Regions from separate parts of the Homo sapiens genome. Here region 1 is linked to region 2. Evidence: promoter capture Hi-C in 16 types of primary human blood cells and fetal thymus (Javierre and others, 2016). All regions are on one chromosome and are shown on one strand. Each heading gives the region's core, a stretch centred on a gene start or on the middle of the fragment in contact. The rest is flanking DNA. Distances are from core to core; before and after follow the strand shown. Region 1 holds the start of ATP5MG (ATP synthase membrane subunit g). Region 2 holds the start of BACE1 (beta-secretase 1).

What was found. The method cuts DNA at HindIII sites, captures the fragments that hold promoters and counts their contacts. A CHiCAGO score of 5 or more calls a contact.
Region 1: the fragment with the promoter of ATP5MG here is called in contact with the fragment with the promoter of BACE1 in region 2 in 1 of 17 cell types (monocytes); the score reaches 6.2 in monocytes.

The regions. Positions count from the first base shown.
Region 1 is chr11:118,399,635-118,405,885 of GRCh38, forward strand. It overlaps ATP5MG (ATP synthase membrane subunit g), which reads left to right and starts at 1,972. Exons shown (of 3, transcript NM_006476.5): 1 at 1,972-2,083. The coding sequence starts at 2,032. The region is part of intron 3 of LOC100131626 (a long non-coding RNA gene); the gene reads right to left. RefSeq lists enhancers at 1,633-1,712, 1,833-2,696, 3,155-3,745. The HindIII fragment of the contact is 3,431 bases long and covers 1-2,704 here.
Region 2 is chr11:117,311,147-117,317,610 of GRCh38, forward strand. BACE1 (beta-secretase 1) reads right to left here and starts at 5,110. Exons shown (of 9, transcript NM_012104.6): 1 at 4,389-5,110. The coding sequence starts at 4,649. RefSeq lists enhancers at 2,976-3,498, 3,499-4,020 and silencers at 4,549-4,658, 4,749-4,838. The HindIII fragment of the contact is 5,304 bases long and covers 2,923-6,464 here.

The DNA of each region.
Region 1 (6,251 bases), core at 722-3,221, 1.1 Mb after region 2:
ACCACAAACTTATCTCTAACGTTGCCCAACAACCCTTCTGTGTGTCCTTCAGCTATTCCAAACTTTGGCCTCCTTCCTCAAATTCCTTCTCATACCCCCCTCCCATTGACCCCTCACAGTCCGATGACTTTGCCTTCATTTTGCTGGGAAGATAAAGACTTCAGAGACTTTGAAGACTTTCAGACCTCTCTCCCATAATCACATCTGTGGAAAAGGCCCCATAGATCCCTGGCTAGTTCTCTTTTCCTGCCTCATCAGGGCTCTTGTCAATATCCCTTTTTATCAGGCAGGATGGCCTGTGCCTGTAATCCCAGAGCTAAGCAAGAGGCTGAAGTGGGATGATCTCTTGAGGCCAGGAGTTTCAGGCCAGCCTGGGCAATGTGGCAAGACCCCATCTCTAAATAAATAAATGACTGCCTCTTCTCTGTCTTCAATTTCTCCCCTGAGTTCCACATCCCCCTTTGGTTTTCTGACTTGTAATCCTTTACAGCCATATTTCTTCACCATTCACCCTGGATTCTATCCTAATTTTTTGAAAAGGCGCTAGTTAGTTAAAGATTGCCATATTGCTAAATTAACTTTCCCATCCTTAATTTGACTTTTCTGCAGTATCTAGGGCAGCAGAATCACTCCTTCATTGAAAAGTTCTTAGTTCCTTGATTACACTTCTAATTTTTCTTTCCATCTCTCTAACCATTCCAAAAATCGGAGATTTACTTCTGCTCAGACTTCCCCAGGTTACATTACTTATAGTTCTGTTCCTCTCATCAAATGCCACTTCCCTACATACATCTTTTCCTCCTCATATTAAACTATGAAGTTTCAGCCCTCTGTAGTATACAGCTGTTCTCTTACACATCGGCTCAAGGATCTTTTCTAGGAAGTATGCTGAAATCAGCACCATGCCTAATCTGATGGAATGCCCCCTCTCTGAGTATACATTGCAACTTCAGATCTCAACTCTGCCACTTCCAAACTGTGTGGCCATTTTTCAAGCCCAGTCTCAATGGGGACAATGCCTTACAGGCTTTCTTTAAATTCCAAAATGCCTGGCATAGTGTGGGCGTTCAATACAGGTGATTTTTTCCTCACATCTGCACAGCTCCTTGTGGTTAACTAGGGAATTAGGGGAAATGGATTCCAATCGTGATACAGCACTTTGGGGAGATTGGGATTACAAAAAATCAACTTTAAAAGGGCTATGGGGCCAGGCGCGGTGATTCACGCCTGTAATCCCAGCACCAAGGCGGGTGGATCACTTGAAGCTAGGAGTTCGAGACCAGCCTGGCCAACATGGTGAAACACCGTCTCTACTAAAAGTACAAAAATTAGCCAGGCGTGGTGGCGGGCGCCTGTAGTCCCATCTACTAGGGAGACTGAGGCACAACAATCGCTGGAACCCGGGGGACAGAGGTTGCAGTGAGCCGAAGTCGTGCCACTGCACTTCAGCCTGGGCGACAGAGCGAGACTGTCTCAAATAAAAAGGGCTATGGGTTGAGCCTGGTGACAGCCTGTGTGGTGATTGCTCGGCCCCTAACTTTATATGTTTGGCCTTGGACCCTCTCTACCTCTGTACAACGATCGTGTTGGACTAGAAGAATCTCAGCGAATCCTTCTCCAGTACTGACTTCAAAGGTTCTCAGAATCGCGGCGAAAGCACCCTACGCAAAATAGCGGAGGTCGGCGCCAAGAAAAGCACTGCAGGTTCAGGGCGCATGCGCATTTCCGCTCCTTGCCGGTTTTCCGGACCTCTACGAGTGGCTGCCCCACAAAATGCCTGCTTCTCTGCGGAATCCTACTGTTCTTCACATGCTCTCTAATACCATCTTTTCATATCCACTTTCTCTTCCATGTTGAAAAATTAAATTGACAGGCTGGATTCTGCAAAGATCTTTGGACATTTAAGTATCTTCGACCGGCGCGAAAAGAGGCGGCCTGACCTTGGAAGTGGGACGGGGTCCTGCAGCGGGTCCTTCCGGCGGGTGACATTCAGCCGGCGGTTCGGGGCGACGGACTCTCCATTCCAGAACCATGGCCCAATTTGTCCGTAACCTTGTGGAGAAGACCCCGGCGCTGGTGAACGGTGAGCGCGATGTGAGACCGCCGAGGCGGGCACACGGGCGGCAGGGAGGCCTGCGATGGCCTGAGAGGAAGAAGCGGGCTGCGAAGACCCGAGGGGCCTGCGGGTGCCGGGGCGGGATGGCCTGCAGGTGGAGGGAGCAGGAAGCAGGTTGGCGACTCTTTTCTAGCCTTCCACTCGTCTGACCTGCAGATTGGGTTCTCTACACAACCTAGAAGTTCCTGAATTCTAACCACGACTGGGAAGAGAGGTAGTGTGAAGGAAGCCCGGCGTTGCCCGGCAGCTGCAACCATTACGCCCCCTGAGATCGCTAAGAGCAGGGATCTAGAGGGGATGGTTCTGTTAGGAGAGCTAAGAAAAGGAAGGGCAGAAACGTGAAAGTAAATCAATTCGGCCTCATTACATGTGGTGTTGTTCTCAGTGGAGTATTTGGAAGTCAACAGAAATGTTTAAGGATGGGTGAGCTTTTTTGAACGTTGACTTTGCTTTCTGTCCTAGACGGATTCTAAGATACTTCCGCTTTAATCCGAGGGAAATTTTAGGTGGAAATGGACTTCATGGATGAGTATCCATGCCCCGAGAAGCATAGGACGGGATCCGTATAAACAATAATCTTTGTTACGAAGCTTAGCATTCGTGGAATTTTTTCAGCTTGAAGAGCCTCACTGGTAGACCGCTGTATTTCACAACAACCCTGAATAATCACAGCCTCTGAGTACTAGTTTATTTGGCCAGTAAATATTTCAGTTGTCTTCTCAGTGGCAAGCTATTCATTTTATTCCTGAAGTGAGATAAGCTAAATTGACGTAAGTTTTTCCTAGATGTGCTGTATTCCAGTAAGTGACTGAAGGTCGGATCTCTTAACTTTTGCCTACGTTTATGAAATGTGAATAGAAAGCAGAACTTCAAAAAAAATGTAATACTTTCTAGCCTATTTTGCTGTGTTTGAGTTTGGTTTGGGTATTTTCTTTTTCTTTCTTTCTTTTTTTTTTTTTTTTTTCCTAGAAGACAGGGACTCACTCTGTCGCCCAGGCTGGAGTGCAGTGCAGATCACAGCTCACTGCAGCCTCCACCTCCTAGGCTCAAGCGATCCTCCCACCTCAGCCTCCTGAGTAGCTGGGATCACAGGCACGCACCACCACACCCAGCTAATTTTTGTATGTTTTAAGAGACGGGATTTCACCATGTTGCCCAGGCTAGTCTCTTAACTCCTGGGCTCAAGGGATCCTCCCGCCTCGGTCTCCTAAAGTGCCAGAGTTACAGGTGTGAGCCACAGCGCCAGCCGGGTAATTTATCCATTCTCTCCTCCCTTCCCTCCATCACCAGCCAAACTATGAGTTATTGAAGGCTGTCCTGCAGAACCTCACAGCCTACTAGTGAAACATTTTACACATTTTCCCAAATAATTTCATAAGCTTGCAAGAAAATCTTTTACTTTACTAAGATTGTTAAGATACCTGTCATAGAGCTCTACAATTTTATATAAATCAAAAGAGATGGCCCTGCGGCGGTAGCTTACGCCTGTAATCTCAGCACTTTGGGAGGCCAAGGCGGGCAGATCACTTGAGGGCAGGAGTTCGAGACCAGCCTGGCCAACATAGTGAAACCCCATCTCTACAAAAAATACAAAAATTAGGCAGGCTTGGTGGTGCATGTCTGTAATCGCAGCTACTTGGGAGGCTGAGGCAGGAGAATCGCTTGAACCCCGGAGGCGGAGGTTGCAGTGAGTCAGGATTGCACCACTGCATTCCAGCCTGGGCGACGAAGCGAGGCTAGGTCTCAAAAAAAAAAAATAATAATGCTGGACACTGTGGCTCACGCCTGTAATCCCAGCACTTTGGGAGGCCAAGGCAGGTGGATTACCTGAGGTCAGGAGTTAGACACCAGCCTCACTAATATGGTGAAACCTCGTCTCTACTAAAACAGAAATTAGCCGGGCATGGTGGCAGGCGCCTATAATCCCAGCTACTCGGGAAGCTGAGGCAGGAAAATCTCTTTAACCCAGGAGGCGGAGGTTGCAGTGAGCCAAGATTGCGCCACTGCACTCCAGCCTGGCGACAGAGCGAGACTCCGTCTAAAAAAAAAAAAAAAAAAAACTAAAGAGAAAAAAGGATTAGAGGCTTCACTCTGGACTTTGTGGGTGATTTAAGGCACAATTCTTAATATTTCAAGTGGATTTTTTTTCTGGTGTGGCTTTCACATTTTTTAGGTGGCGCATATTAAGGAATTGCAAACTAATTTTTGTGATCTAAAAAGAAAAGTAACACCAAGGTAATTTTTTTGTTATGAAATATATAATATGAACCCTTCCCTCCGTTGTAAATAATTGAAAGATAACTTGTTATTCTTCCAAAAGTACTTAGAAAGGAGGACTCAACTGGGCTGGAATGTTAACGTGGAAATACATTTTGCTTTATAACATACATAGGCTAGTGTATTAAATGTGAATGTTAAATATTTAATAAAAATTACTGACTATATCTGTTAATTCCCCTGGGGGTCAAAAAAGCTTATGGAAATAAGTAAATTTATCATCAGGTTTGCCTAGGAAGATCATAGAATCTGATTTTTTTTTCCCTTAACTGTAGACTTTATTTGTATTTCAATAGTTTTTCCAATAATCTTTCAGTTCCGGGATCCAATCCAGTGTACCACATTGCATTTAGTTTCTATGTCTTCCCAATCTCCTCTGGTCTGGGACAGTTTCCCAGTCTTCCCTCATCTTTCCTGACCTTGACAGTTTTAAGGTATCTAGGTATCTTGTCTGTCTAGGTATCTGTCTTGTCAAAGTATCTGTCTAGGTATCCTGAAGAATTTCCTCAATCTGGATTTGTCTGGTGTTTTTCTCATGCTTAGTTTGGCACTATGGATTTTGAGGAAATACCACAGTGAAGAGATGCCCTAATCACATGTCAGGAGGTATATGATATTCCTGTGACATCTCTGGTGATACAAGCTTTCATCACTTGGTTATAGGTTCCTCTACTGTAAAGTTACTGTTTTTCTCTCCGTGTTCTATTCTATAGAAGCAAATAACTAAGCCTATCCCATAAAGGCAAGGTGTGATTACAGTGGGGGGATTCCATCCCCTGTAGGAGGGAATATCTACATAAATAGAATTTTTCTGTGAGAAAGATTTGTCTCTTCTCCATTTATTTATCCAGTCACTTATTGTATGGACTTGTACATTGATTTCATACTTTCTGTATCAAATACTGTATTATTGCTCAAATTATTTCAGCCTTGGCTATTTGGGAGCTCTTTCAGGTTAGCACCTCTGTCCCTTTGACATACCGCCTCCCTTTCTGATACTACAAGATGCTTCAGATTTATATTGTATTTTCCCTGTCCCAGCCCTAGAATCAGCCATTTCTCCAAGGAACCTTAGTTCCTTTTATTGGACAATAGAATTGAGAAACTAAGGTCTGGGTGCTGTTTATGTTCCTTGCTACCAGAATATCACTACTTCTAGGTCCTCTCATTTGACAGGAATATAGATATGTATCAGTATAGATGTGTGTATGTGTATATACATGCATACTAAGCCATGTATATACATGCATATATGTATATATAATTATTTCTGTGTCTGTCAGTCTGTGTATATATTAAGCTAAACCTGAGTCCAACTCTAACCCAGTACTGTGGGATTTATTCTTGCTGCTTTTCTTGTTTACCTGTAACATCACTCAACCTCCACTGAGAAATCTAGCTCCCATTATCTACCATTCATTATGTTTTATCTCTTGTATACATGTAAAGCAGTTTCAAACTCTAACCTGTATCCCCTAAGAAACAAATTTACCACCTAAAATATTGTTTATGTACAGTATACTGATTCATTTTTTTTTTAAGGATGAAATGTCTGTGTGTTGGAGATAATATTGACAATTGATTGACTTATACAAGATTGTGCTTTTTTTTTATTGTCCCATCTTTCAGGCATTGGCAGTTCTGTTTGGAACTATCTCTTAGAGCTTTGTGTCTGCTTAAAGGTATGCCCATATCCCCAAACACAGAAGATGAGGGAGATAGTAATTCAGAAATACTCAAATGGAGGCCGTTAATATGAGGAAAACACCAAGAGCCTTGGGTAATCTGTCTTTGAACAGTAGACACTTTATGGGCTTTCATGCTATTTTTATTACGTTTCTCTTGTAATTTTTGAAAC
Region 2 (6,464 bases), core at 3,860-6,359:
GAAGTTGGAGACCAGCCTGGGCAACATAGTGAGACAATTTGAAAAAATCAGCTGGGGCTGGTGGCATGTGCCTGTAATCCAAGTTACTCAGGAGCCTGAGGCAGGAGGATCACTTGAGCCCAGGAGTTACGATTGTGCCCCTGTACTCCAGCCTGGGCAACAGAGAGAGACCCTGTAATTAATAAACAAGCAAATAAATTTGTATACAAGTACTATAAGCCATCCCCTCCTGCCACCTTTCCTATTCCCACAGTCTTGTTATCCTCCAGTTCACCCCAGATCAGAATCTCAAAACCATCTTTGATGCCCTCTTCCTTTCCCTTCACACCAATGTCACCAAATCCTTCCCACCTGCCCTGGCACGTTCTCTGCATCCTGCCCTTCCTTTCTCTTTCCATCTTATTGCAGCCTCATGCCCTCCTTGTCATAGAGGGCCTCACACCTGGACTGTTGTGACAGCCCCCTGTGCCTGTGTCTTTCAGTCCTACTCTTTTTATTTTTATTTATTTTTTGAGACGGAGTCTTGCTCTGTCACCCAGGCTGGAGTGCAGTGGCGCAATCTCAGCTCACTGCAACCTCTGCCTCCCGGGTTCAAGAGATTCTTCTGCCTCTGCCTCCCGAGTAGCTGGAACTACAGGCACGCGCCACCACACCCAGCTAATTTTTGTATTTTTAGTAGAGACGGGGTTTCACCATATTGGCCAGGTTGGTCTCGAACTCCTGACCTTGTGATCCACCTGCCTTGGCCTCCCAAAGTGCTGGGATTACAGGCGTGAGCCACCACACACAGCCCCCACTCTTTTTAAAATTCAGATGTCTCTTCCTGAAAGATTGCTTTCTTCATGTCATTCCCCTGCCCCAATAAATTCAGATTTTCCCTTATATCTGAAGGCCAAAGTCCAAACCTTATAGTCTCACATTTAAGCTTTATGGCTATTTGGCTCTATTTTATTTACCCAAACTTATCTGGTCTTAGCCTAAACCTGTAATATTAACAGGACTGGCTCTCTATTGTCTCCTAAACAACCATGCTTAAGCCCTAACATCCATAACTCATCCTCTCATTCACTGTGGACTCTCCCAATTTTAAGGGGGTAGGGTGGGAAGGAGCAGACATGGACATACGTGTAACGTGCAATTACAGTACAGTGGGATAGTATGGTGCCATCTGCCCCCTGGGAATAGCCTGCCACTCCTGTCCATCCTTCAAGACCATGCTCAGAGCACATGTCCCTGGTGCGGCTTTCCTGGATGAGTTTATCACTTTCTGAACACCTGTGGCACTCACTCTCTGCACTCCTATAAATACATTATTCTCTTTTCTTTTTTTTTTTGAGACGGAGTCTCGCTCTGTCACCCAGGCTGGAGTGCAATGGCGTGATCTCGGCTCACTGCAACCTCTGTCTCCTGGGTTCAAGCAATTCTCCTACCTCAGCCTCCCGAGTAGCTGGGATTATAGGCGCCTGCCACCATGCCCAGATAATTTTTGCATTTTTCGTAGAGATGGGGTTTCACCACGTTGGCCAGGCTGGTCGCGAACTCCTGACCTCAGGTGATCCGCCGGCCTCAGCCTCCCAAAGTGTTGGGATTACAGGCGTGAGCCACCGCGTCCAGCCATAAATGGTTCTCAAATTTGAGGCACAAACTACGGGGCCCCACTGTCAGAGATCCTGTCTCTAGAGGTCAGGGATGGGGCCAGGGAATTTACATTTTTAGCTGACTCCAATGAGGGTTTGCCGACCTCGCTTTGAGTATATCTGCATGGATGACCTTGTACTCGTCACTTCCGCCCTTTCACTTCCACTGTAACTCTATGTGGGCAGAAAACATGTCTTCTTGTCTCTTTGTGGATCAGCCCCCAGGCACCACCAATTAATTGCCTAGCACAGAGAAAGTGCTCCCCAAATTTTACTTTTTCTTGTTCAGAATACAATGCCATCCAAGTTCTCATTTGGCACTTACAACAGCCGCGCCAGGTAGGAAGAAAGGGCGTCCTTCTTACAGACAGATGGGGAGAGAGTCCAAGCCACCAGAGAGCAGAGACTGGCTGATGCAGGCTTAGTTAGAAATCATAGTGCAAGCCACACAGTTGCTTTAGTTGTGGGCTCCCTGGCACTAGCTTCCTGGACTGGTGTTGAACTTTAAGCCCACTTTCCTCTTCTAGAAAGGAACGAGGAAGGAACTGACATTTATTGAGCAATTACTCTCTGCTAAGTACTGGGCTGCAGGATGTATGCATTATTTCAGGGGATCAGGGAAGTACAGCAATGGATACCCCGTTTTTGTTTTTGTTTTTATTTTTTCTGAGACAGAGTTTTGCTCTTGTTGCCCAGGCTGGAGGGCAATGGTGCGATCTTGTCTCACTGCAACCTCCGCCTCCCAGGTTCAAGCGATTCTCCTGCCTCAGCCTCCTGAGTAGCTGGGATTACAGGTGCATGCCACCAGGCCCGGCGAATTATTTTTGTATTTTTAGTAGAAACAGGGTTTTGCTATGTTAGCCAAGCTGGTCTCGAACTCCTGACCTCAGGTGATCTGCCCACCTTGGCCCCCCAAAGTGCTGGGATTACAGGATACCCCAGTTTTATACATGTAAAACGTGGAGGCCCAGGACATCCGAGTTTTTATGCCTCATTGCATAGAATTGAAGAGGCAGAACAGGCCAGACAAGGATAAAGTGACTTCATATTTGTTGGAGGTCAGTTTTATATGCTGGTGTATTGTTCTGGGTGAAAGCACCTAGAACAATTAACCCTCACAACTTAATCCTCACAATTACCTTGCAAAGGAGGTCTCATTTCCTACTCATTTTAAAGATATGACAGTAGTTTCAGAGAGGTTATGCAATTTGCCCAAGGCCACACAGCTGAGAAGAGGAAAAGCTGTGGGTGGTAGAGCTGGGATTCGTGGACTGTCTGACCTCAAAGCTTGTGTGGGTTCTGCAGCCCCGTCCTGCATCGTGCCATGGGGTCCATGCACAGTGTGCACAGCATGTCAGTCGCAGAAACAGGAGTAGGTCCCAGGTCTCTGCATACCTGCTGCTCCCTGACGATATCATCTAGCGTTCTGTTTGCTCAGGGCCTGGATTTGGCTTCTGTCCTGCCCTCCCAAATTCCCACTGGAGACTACTGCTGGGGAAGTTATGGTGCACAGGAAAGAGGATGAGAAAGTGGGGAAGACCAGGCTTTCGACTAGCTGAGAGGTAGGGCTGGGGAGCACGCACCTAGGAAGGCTGGCTTCTGTAAAGTAATTGGGAGGTGGGGGTTTGTGTTTCTCCCAGATCCAGCTGTCTGAGAAGTTCAGGAAAGTGTGGCTGTCCCCTCCGCCCACCCCAAACACACTCCCACCTTCACAGACCCTCCCAAGGACAGACTTCCCAGACACAGATCCGGAGGTGGCTCACAGATGTGCAGGATCAGATTCAAGGTGACACGCACCAGCATACACAGAACCACAGGGCTGCCCGGGCCCGGACTGCCCCACAGAGGCGGCAGATGCACACAGAGGTCAGCCACAGCACCCCACATGGAGGGCTGCTCACCCACAGAGGTGCAGAGGGTGCCACCTCCACCAGCCACCTTGAAGGTACCTTGGAGATTGTCAGGAAGGATGGGGAGGGCATAACAGTGTTTTCTCTGTAACTCCCCTCTCCCCCGCCATGGAAGGAGTCCCACTCTTAAAAGGGAGCTCTGGCTCCTTTCCTACCATTTGTTCTTTCACCAGGCTCAGTTCAGTTCCCCTCTGGCCTGGGGAGGTGTGGGGTGGGGGAGGGGCCGGAGTGTAGACCGCGAGAGGGAGAAGGGGAGGAGGAGGGGACGGCAGGAGCCTGTCCAGGGCTTCCGGGCGGAGTGCAGTCAGGGGGGCCTCGACAACCTCACTTTGCCGTACCAGTGGCAGCCCAGATGGTGGGAGCAAGGTGCTTATTCAACTGCTGCCAGGATTCCTTGGTCCTGGAGGTACTGGGAACAATGGTGGGAATCAGAGGAGGGGACAAGGTTGGGTGGCCAACCTCTAGAGTGGTGGGATTTGGGAGACTCGGACTGGGCCACTGTCAGAGGGGGCTGACACCTGTTATAGTGCCCCTGTGGCGGACCCTTCCTCCAGGTCAGGGTCCCCAGCTGATGTGTCTGTCTTGCCTCAAATCCTTCCAGACGGCGTATGTGTCAGATGAGGAGCAAGGGGAACTAGGCAGCCAGGGGAGACGAGGAGGGAATGGGGAGCTTGGGAACACTTCTGCCAACAACCACGTGACCCCCGGGGAATGGCTGGGGAGGGGTCCCTCCTGCTGTCCCCACCAGCCCATTTGAGCAGGGGCTAGCTTGAGGCATCCCCATCCTGTCTCCCCTCTGCTCATGCAGGCGGAGGGCTAAGGGCTGGCCTGACCACCTTACCGTCTGCGGGGGGCTGCCCACGGTCATCTCCACGTAGTAGCCCTGCCCCGACTTGCCCCTCAGGTTGTCCACCATCTCCACAAAGCTGCCCCTCCGGCCGGGCTCCTCGGGCTCTTCGTCGGTCTCCCGGGGCAGCCGCAGCCCCAGGGGGGCGCCCCCCAGGCCGCTGCGCAGGGGCAGCCGGATGCCGTGCTGGGTGCCGTGGGCAGGCAGCACTCCCGCGCCCATCCACAGCAGGAGCCAGGGCAGGGCTTGGGCCATGGTGGGCCCCGGCCTTCGGGCCCTCTGGGCTCGCACTGGCCCACGTCCGTCCCTGGCGCCTGCCCCCAAGTCTGGGTGGTGCTGGTGGCTTCTCAGGAGAGGGAGCTTGGGGGCATCAGGACGCCAGGGCCTGCAGGGCCCTGGGCCAGCCCCCGGGTCCGGGCTGTGGAGAGCGGTCAGGGGAGATCCGCAGAGCACGGGAGCAGGGGAGAGGCTGGGATCCGGAGCCCGCTACATCGGCACGGCGGCGGCCAGCCTGGGCAGCGGGCGCGGGCTCCCGGCGGGGCTGGGAGGGGCGGGCATGGCGGGCCGGTGGCGGCTTCCCTGGTCCCCCCGGCGGGCGGCGGCGCGGGCAGGGGCAAGGGCTCCGGGCTCCTGCGGCTGCGTTGGCTGCTCAGGCCACCATAATCCAGCTCGCGGCTCGCAGCTCCCGGGCGGGCTGGGGAGGCGGAAAGACTTGTGGCGGCGGCTGTCAAAGCCAAAAGGTTTTCGCTTTTCCCTGGGATCGCTGGGAAGTGTAGTCTTCCCATGGCAGGCAATCCGGCTTCCGGGGCTGGAGAGGGGTCTGGGATGCCCTCTGCCGAGGTGGAGTCCGCCCTGCAAGGCCCTGGCGGGAAGGGCCAGACGGATGGAGAGGGGCACACCTCCCGTCTGTCAGTCTTTCTTTCAGCATGGAAGGAGCACCCACTGTATGCCAGGCACACTGCCAGGCGCTGGAGATACAGAGAGAAATAAACGGTGATTCTACACGGGACAGTTAAGTGATTCCTGCCGCGGTGGGGTTTCACACTATACGATGTGGCATTAAGGAGTAGGGATTTGGAGGGACATCTAGGGGATCTGGGAAGACTCAGTGGGAGAAGGTGGTATTTAATTTGAGCGTTTAAAAATGGGTAGGATTTTCACGAGCAGAGATTGAGGGAGCAGGATGAAAGGGGAGGAAGAGTTTTTCCAGGCTGCAAACCAGCGGAGCAGGGTCCAAAAGGGGAAAGTGCAGTTGTCTTATTTTCTCCTGCGCCTGCGATCTGCGGGCAGGTAAGAGCCAGTGGGTCTTCTCCCATCTGAACCTGTTTGTGCCCTTGAGGCTCTACTTGAATCCTTATGGCTCCTCTGATTTTCTGCACCATCAGCCAGACTGAGGAGAAATGGCTGTTGATAGCTTTAAAGTGTTAACACTCCGAAAAGTATCTCTATATTAACTGGTAAGAGCTTAAAGCCTTGAACCAAAAGCGTTAGAGTTCTAATAGCTTAAAGGAGAAAAGCCGGTATGGTTTTAACAATATATTGTTTATCAAATGTGGAAAGCCATTGATAAAATTCAGCAGTTACTCTGATTTAATTTTTTTAAAAAATGAAAGGGAATCTTCATTTTTCTTTTGAAAAGGAGACTTGCTCTGTCACCCAGGCTGGAGTGCAGTGGCATGGTCTCAAGTCTGCAACCTCCGCCTCCCGGGTTCAAGCAGTTCTCATGCCTCAGCCTCTGAGTAGCTGGGATTACAAGCATGCGCCACCATACCCAGCTAATTTTTGTATTTTTAGTAGAGATGGGATTTCACCATGTTGGCCAGGCTGGTCTCGAACTCCTGGCCTCAAGTGATCCGCCCACGTCGGCCTCCCAAAATGCTGGGATTATAGGCATGGACCACTGTACCCAGCCAGGAAACTTTTTAAACAAGATAACGACAACAACAACAAATGTAGTAATAACAGGCTACGTTACTCCCATTAAAGGCAGGCTTTGGAAAGGAAAGATCATTATCTCTACTCTTTTTTTTTTTTTTTTTGAGAAGGCGTCTCGCTTTGTCGCCCAGGCTG